Linked DNA regions of Homo sapiens: region 1 is linked to region 2. Evidence: promoter capture Hi-C in human tissues and cell types (Jung and others, 2019). All regions are on one chromosome and are shown on one strand. Each heading gives the region's core, a stretch centred on a gene start or on the middle of the fragment in contact. The rest is flanking DNA. Distances are from core to core; before and after follow the strand shown. Region 1 overlaps HNF4A (hepatocyte nuclear factor 4 alpha). Region 2 holds the start of R3HDML (R3H domain containing like).

Region 1 (4,140 bases), core at 1,227-3,726, 56 kb after region 2:
AGGCTGCCTAAAGACCAGATCTCTTATCTCTCTCATTTTGCAGTTGGGGAAACTGAGGCACGGAGAGGGAAAATGACTTGCCCAAAGCCAGTGAGTCAGCAAACTGAAGCAGGTCAAGAATCCAGAGGGAACCCTGAAGTTCCCTGAGCAGAAAACAATCGGTTAAAATCTCATTGCCACTTCTGCCTTGAACTCCAAATCCTCCTTCCTGAGCTCCAGGCATGGGGTCCCCTCCATCCCCTCACCCAGAGCTTGTCTCATCGGCCATGCTTCCCTCCCTGCCTCTCATCCTCCTCCTGACTTCCCCTGCCACCCGCACCACCTGAGGCTGGCAGAGAGTTCCTGGCAGGTTCTCCAGTGCTGACGGGCACAGCCACCAGGCCCCCACTATTCCATCCAGGGGACACCTTCCCACTGGGTCCCTATCTGGATGACTTGGGACATTCTTTGTTCTACACTTCATCCTCTCTTTGGGATTTCTGAGTCCAGACACAGTGAGGACCCCGACAGCCCCCCTCCTCACCTCTTGTCCTGGGAAGGCCAGGCCTGCATGGCAGAGATGTAACCAGACTCCAAAGCTTTCTGGGCCGGGCTTCATGGAAGGCCGTATCGGTGCAGGGGCATAAACACAAGCTCTGGAGCCAGGTAGAGATAGTTCTAACACCATTGCCTTGGCTCACTGGGAAAATGATGTTTCTTCTCTGAGCCTCAGTTTCCTCACCTGTGATGGGAGACGAGAACCCTTCCATCCTCAAAGCTTGCTCTCAGCTGCTATGGAAGCATCTCCAGGTTGTGATATTAAATGAACCAAACAAGATACAGAACAGTGTAAGAGCAGAGGCTACTCATGTATGATCTTACATGCTATCTGGTCTGTATAAAGAAACCTTGGCAGATACATCTGTAAGGGATGTGGTTCCCCATAGTGAGGAAGTCAAGGAGAACAGGTGAACAGGAGACAGCTGGAAGCAAGACTTCTCAATTTACACCTTTTATGTTTTGATTCTGAACCATGCGAATGTAGCACCAATTCAAAACTAAATGTAAAGATGTTCACAAATTAAGTAAAATATTAAATAATAATAATAACACATACCTCAATAATATGACCGGTGTGCAGTCAAGATTTAGGCCCAGGTACTAGAAATTGACTCAAAGCAACAGAGGAGGCCTGTCTTCAAGTCACCGAATCCTTGACCTAGAAAGGCCCTTTATTTTGTCAACGTCAAATTGCCCATAACAACAATAATAGTCTTGGTAGCAAGAATCAGGAGCTCCCTACTTGGGGAACATGGTGCCAAGCACTGTCTGAACATTATCTCATTTAATTGGCATTTTGATTTTGTGAGGAAACGATCATCATTCCCTCTTTACAGATGGGAAAACTGAGCCTCGCTGAGGTTTTGACTAGTAAGTTGTAGTAAGTGATAGAACTTGATGCCATCGAAGGCTTTCCAGGTTCAAATTTGAAGCCCCCCTACAGTGGGTCTCAATATTGGCTGCACAAAAATATAGACGCCTGGCACCTCCCCACCCCTACCCCAAGATTCGATCATTGATCTGTGATAGGGACTGGGCATCTGTCTTTAATTTTAAAAAATCTTTTTAAAAAATAGACATAGGGTCTCACTATGTTGCCCAGGCTGGTCTCAAACTCCTGGGTTCAAGTAAACCTCCCATCTCAGCCTCCCAAAGTGCTAGGATTATAGGTGTAAGCCACCATGTTCGGCCAACATCTGTATATTTTAAAGGTTTCAGATGATTCTATTTCATCTTCAGAGATGAGTCTCTGCTTTGTTAGACAAAACTTCTCCAATGGGAAACCAAGGCCAGGGAGGGAAATGACCTTGCCCAAGGACACACAGTGGCTGGAACCAGAGCTGGGGCAGGACACCCAGCAGCTTACATGAAGCCCTAGGGCAAATAAGAAAAAGGCACCCCACTCTGGGCAGGCAGAGCTCCATGGGCACTTCGCTTGGCAAGTGGAACAAGGGCTGGGTTTCCATCCCTACCTGCCCTCTTGGCTGGAGAACCTTTGTGCAGTGAGCAACCTGCACAACTGTACAGGGCAGTAACTCTGATCTGAGCCTCAGGACTTCCAAACACTTCACCTTAGTGACCTGGCAAATCCCTGGGGCCCCTCAGAACAAGAGTATGGGGAGACCAAGGGTGGCTTCTGGGATGTGGGCTCAGCCCTCACTCCCCAAACCAGAGTCTGGGTCAGGCAGGGGCTCCCATCAGCCTTCAGGCCCCACAAGGGCCGGGAAGGCCGCATCTAATTCCCAAGGTCACCCCTGCAGATAAATTCAGGAACATAAACAGGAGGGATGAACATAAACAGGAGGACAGCAACACCCTCAGCCCAGATGTCATAAGCCACCTGGCAGGAGGCAGCCTGCGGAGAAGCTCCACCCACACAGATCCAAGTCCTCCTGGCTTCCTTCCTGATCATTCTCCAGACCATACTCTCTGCCCTACCTCCGGAGCCTTACAGTCAGCATCTCCCACAGTGCCCTGCTCTCTGCCCTTCTCCTGGCCATCTCTCACTGGCATCCCTGGAAGGGAAGGGTAGCCCTGGAGTTAGAGGCACAGACTCTAGAGACAGACTGCCCAAGTTCCAATTCCACTTCTTGTTTCTCATCAGCTGTGTGAGCATGGGTATATGGCTCAACCTCCCTGTGCCTCTGGTGTGTAAAAAATTGGTGAAAACATTGCCTACCTCCCAGAGTGGCTGGGAGGATCAAGGAAGTAACACATGCAAAGCTCCTAAAACAGCTGCATATCCAGTGGCCATGATGATCAATGTGTATATTTTGCTTCATTTCATTTTCATGACAACCCTGGAAGTTAAGTATTATAATTCCCAATTTACAGGTGAAGAAACTGAGGCTCAGAGAGGTGGAGAGAGTCAGGGCAGGGCTCTACATCTTTTTTTGTGATAGGGACTGGGCATCTGTCTTTAATTTTAAAAAATCTTTTTAAAAAATAGACACAGGGTCTCACTATGTTGCCCAGGCTGGTCTCAAACTCTTGGGCTCAAGTAATCCTCCCATCTCAGCCTCCCAAAGTGCTGATGCCTCCAGAGACAGGACGTGGCTGAGATGGATTATAACGTAGTCTCCGGTTTGCAGTGCCTGGCTGCTGGTCATATCCTCACAGGGCCCATGGGACACAGAGCCAGGTGCATTCCCCTGACTTGGGTCTTCCAATGGCTCTCAGGCACCTCTCTGCTTCCAGCCAGCCCTGGGAGGAGGGGGAGAACGGCATGGCAAGGCGTTTGCAGAGCCGTCTTGTTCACCAATGTCTTTCAAGACATTGCCCGGGTCCACAGAGAGCCCACCATTCATTCCCATGCTGGCTGGAGCCCCTGAATACCCGAGGTGACCTTCTGTCCTTGGACAAGTCACTTCCCCCTCTGATCTCCATCTCCCCATCTGTGCAATGAGGGGATGGGGCTGAATCAGTGGTTTTCCAACCCTCAAATAAAATATTAAGACTACATGTAAAAGGGAGTCGCTGGTTGAAGCTGGGCCTGTGGATGCATACCCTTGGCTCCTGGGAGCCTCGGAACCCAGCTTGAAAAACCCCAGCCCACATCCTCCTAAAGATTCTCCTGGCTCTGACACTGCAGAGTTCTAGAACCCCAAGCTCAAAGCTGCCGCTTCCCATCCCTGTTTGGAAAGCTCTCCCCCAGCTGCCTTTATCTCTCTTTGGTAACAGAGCAAATTTGCTCAGGACCCAGCACAGGGGGAACAAGCAGACTGTTGACTCTTGAGCAAAGCCTCTTCTTTGGAGAGCAGCCGAGGTGGCCGTGGGCTATGCGTTGGGAGGCCAGCGGCCTCTTGCATAACCCTGGAGGCCTCCTGCCCACCCAGGCCTTTTCAGGGTTAGGGGTGAGGAAAACCGCAAACTCATGCCCAGTTAATTTTTTAAGGCAAAATCAACAGGCTCAGCAATGATTAGCAGCTGGGTAAGTTGGTCTTAATCAGGCTAAGGACAGGGAGGGAGGAAGGAGGCCCAGGGATGGGGCCCAGTTATCAGTTAACCACATGAATGTTGCTTCCTTCCAAACCCACTGGCCTTCAGCCCCAAGCTCCCTCATCTTCCTCTCGGAAATACTCCTGTGACAAGCCAGTGGCC
Region 2 (3,751 bases), core at 75-2,574:
GAAAAGGAAAAGGCATCCTTTTAGATACTAACCAGGCCTGGGGTCAGATCTGGACTTAAATCCTGGCGTGATTGCAGACTGGCTGGCTTGACTTTGGGCTTGTTCTTTCTCCTCTCTGGGGCTCAGTTTCCTCATCTATGAAATGGGGAGCTATAGTACCTGCTTCTGAAGGTTGGCTGGGCTTTTGTGTAAAGCACTCAGCCCTGGGCCTGGCACATAGCAGGGGCTCACTAGATGGGCCATATTAACTGTCTGCTCCAAGGCTGGAGGGTGTTATAGGGAAAACAGTCAGAAAATACTCTCCAGATGCAAGGTGGCCTTAATATGTCAGGATGTGGAAGGCAGAGAGAAGCCTCGGGGTCTGGGATCTCCCATAGGGGATGAGTATTTTTTCCTGGAATCCCTGCCCTGTTGCCACATCACTACCCTGACCATTTGCCCAGCCCAGCCCTACATGCTTCAGGTGAAAGCAGAGAGAGAGGGGCGGGAGAGAAAAGCCCATCAAGCAGCAGGCGGAGCCTCCCTGCAGGAGTCTGGCCTGGCTGGAAGGGGAGGGGGCTGTGGGGCCAGGGACGTCAGATGCCAACAGCACCAGGGGACCGTTAAAGTTGCTGCGCCGCCAGGTGGGCCAGGGTGTCTGCAGAGGTCCCCGGCCTCCTGGGCTGCCGCCTGCCACCGCTTGGGCTGCCCGTCCTGGGTACGCACCGTTGGAGCCTCCTGCCTGGTCTCTCGTGCTTCTCTGTCTCTTCTCTAAGTCGATTTTTCGCTCTTTCTTCTGTTTGTGCCCCTCTCTCTGTCTATTTCTGTCCTCCCCCAGCCACATTGTTGCCTCTCTCTCATTCTCTCTTATCTCTTTACCTTTCTATTTCTCATTCTTTTTTCTCTGTAACTCTTTTTTTCTGTCCCCTTTTTGGTCTCTCTTTTTTCTCTGCCTCTTTCATTCTCTGCCATTGGGTTTTCTCTGTGTCTCATTCTCAATTCCTAAATTGCAGCAAAGCAGGGACAAAAGGACCTTGCAATATGACTTGGGGTAAGGTGGGCCCTGCCCTCCGAGGGCATTGACTGAGCCCGCTCCAGCAGGATTGGTGAAGAGGATGTCTAGACTGGAGAGGGCTGCTGTCTGTCTCCTGGGCTGGAGGGACAGAGCACTGGCTTTGAAGTGGTGGCACCATCTCACCCCAGGGCCATGTCTGGATTAGCCACTGTCTGGGCATTTCTTCCCCTTGCCCAACCCACTCAGTCCCCTGGGGTGGAAAGGAAGGGGTGCTGGGCATCTGGACCAGAGCTGCATCTGGAGGTCTTTGCCAAGTTCCCAGGAGGCAGCATCCTCTGGGTCGGCACTGTTGGAGAACGCTCAGGGTCTGGTGCTCTCGTGCCTGCCCCTTCCAGGCAGCCGGCTCTGATTGCACAAGGCAGACCTGTGACTCCTCCATCCAGCTATGCCCCTGCTGCCCAGCACCGTGGGCCTGGCAGGCCTGCTCTTCTGGGCTGGCCAGGCAGTGAACGCCTTGATAATGCCTAATGCTACCCCAGCCCCGGCCCAGCCCGAGAGCACGGCTATGCGGCTCCTGAGTGGCCTGGAGGTGCCCAGGTACCGCCGGAAGCGCCACATCTCTGTGAGAGACATGAATGCCTTACTGGATTATCACAACCACATCCGGGCCAGTGTGTACCCACCTGCCGCCAACATGGAATACATGGTGAGTCCCCGTACCTGCCCCCCACCCCCCGCAGTGTCCCTTCCGGCAAACGCAGCCGGACTCATCTTGGCCTAGAATGACTGGCTTTGAAGAGCTGGACCACTTGCCTGCCTGGCCCCACTAGCCAGTATCTGGGTGTCGACCTGTGGAAAGGGCAGGAGTTAATCTGCCCATTTTACAGATGAGGAAACCAAGAAGGTTGCACAGCTGTTCCAGTGAGTCAGGCATGTGACTACTATGTAAGGAGCACCACTGTGCGCCAGGCACTGCACGTGAGTATCATCTCCATTTTCCAGAGGAAGAAACTGAGACTCAGAGAATTAATTTGCCCAGCCAGGATTTCAATCCAGGTCTGCCTGCTGCCACCTGGCACCATCACAACTGTAACCATCACAATCCCCTACCCAAGAATTTTGGCTCCCCACACTGGGGACCTGCATGGGGTGCGTGGCTGGTGCTTTCTATGCTATTGTCTCTTTACCCTAAGGTCTTGACTGACACACCCACAGCATCCTCCACAAGCCCCTGGAGGCAGGCTTGGAGCAGTGGGGACAGGTACTGGGGAATCTCAGGCTGAGGAAAACCAACAGCTGACCAGCAGAGGAAGCTGGGATGTCTCCCCTCAAAGAGGCAGGGCTGGTGGCTCTCACTCCAGCCCCCAAGAAGTCAAAGGAGGGCACCAACCTTTTGCTTACAGCTCCTCCCCCAGGGCCACTGTCCAAAACCAGCCTAGAGGGATGGGTTTCCAGCCCACCCAGAGATGTCTTTAGGGAAAGAGTTTGCCAGTCTGCCCCCTGAAAGACCAACACATGCCACTCGATAGCCTGAAAACTTAACTTTTTCATCGTATCCATTGACTTATACTTGGAGTACACTTGCAGCCAGGCACCGTGCTAAGCCTTGTGGATACTGCTGGTAACAGAATAGACAAGGCCCCTTCCTTCACGAAGGTGACATTTTAGTGGGAATAAGAGAAAACAAGCATGAACAACAAGATATTAATGTACATAAGATAACGTGAGGAGGCAATACAGTGTTGGGAGGGGCGGGAATAAGAGCCGGGATGGCAGGCAGCTAGAGTGCAGGGGAGTCATTGACTTGTTCATTCATTCGTTAGCACCTAGAATGCCCTCCATTTTTCAAACAAATGGCACATTTATTGAGCACCCGTTGTGCGTGTGTGGCACCTGCCCCAACAGGTGTTTAATGATTGCAGGCGGCATGGAGCAGAGAGGGTTCAATATCTCACCAGGGACTCCAGGGAGGGCCTGAACATGTAGGTTTGATGTTTAGCCTGCTCCTTCCCTCACTTTACCCCTTTGTAGCATGAGGGAAGCACTCCTCTGCTCTCCCTAAAAGACTGAGCCAGAGAGCCGGGCGCAGTGGCTCACGCCAGTAATCCCAGCACTTTGGGAGGCCGAGGTGGGTGAATCACCTGAGGTCAGGAGTTCCAGACCAGCCTGGCCAACATGGTGAAACCCAGTCTGTACTAAAAATACAAAAATTAGCTGGGTGTGGTGATGAGCGCCTGTAATCCCAAGCTACTTGAGAGGTGGAGGCAGGAGAATCGCTTGAACCTGGGAGGCCGAGGTTGCAGTGAGCCGAGATCCAGCCAGCCTGGATGACAAGAGTGAAACTCTATCTAAAAAAAAAAAAAAAAAAAAAATATTGGGCCAGACAACCCTGGTAGATACCTGGACCCCTCTTTGGATGCCCCATTTCTCCCTCCCTAGCTGACTTCTACTCACAGAACAGGCTGTCCAACTCGACAGCCTTTGCCCTAGCAGCCCTTCTCTCACTGCCGCAAGAAAGTTTGGCTCCCATTTCTCACTCTCACACCGACCAGGACTGTAATAATCAATGACTTGTTGAAGGCCTTGTTGCCTTGCTACCCTGAGTCCTCAGTGCCTAGAGATGTTGTTTGATATTTGATGAATGAACAAATCCTATTTCAGAGAATCCCAGGAAGTCAGAGATGGAAGGGAACTAGTATTTTAATGACATATTTTCTGGTTATAAAACTTGGAGAATTCATACATTGGAAAATTACA

The links. The method cuts DNA at HindIII sites, captures the fragments that hold promoters and counts their contacts. A contact is called where the count stands out against the background at its distance.
Region 1: a contact is called between a fragment that was not itself captured here and the fragment with the promoter of R3HDML in region 2, in 1 of the 25 tissues and cell types used here (pancreas).

The regions. Positions count from the first base shown.
Region 1 is chr20:44,390,913-44,395,052 of GRCh38, forward strand. The region is part of intron 1 of HNF4A (hepatocyte nuclear factor 4 alpha); the gene reads left to right. The region is part of intron 1 of HNF4A-AS1 (HNF4A antisense RNA 1); the gene reads right to left. Among named protein-coding and RNA genes, the nearest start is that of HNF4A-AS1, 2.7 kb to the right of the region's middle. The HindIII fragment of the contact is 5,512 bases long and covers 1-4,140 here.
Region 2 is chr20:44,335,719-44,339,469 of GRCh38, forward strand. R3HDML (R3H domain containing like) reads left to right here and starts at 1,325. Exons shown (of 5, transcript NM_178491.4): 1 at 1,325-1,700. The coding sequence starts at 1,440. RefSeq lists an enhancer at 7-996. The HindIII fragment of the contact is 19,264 bases long and covers 1-3,751 here.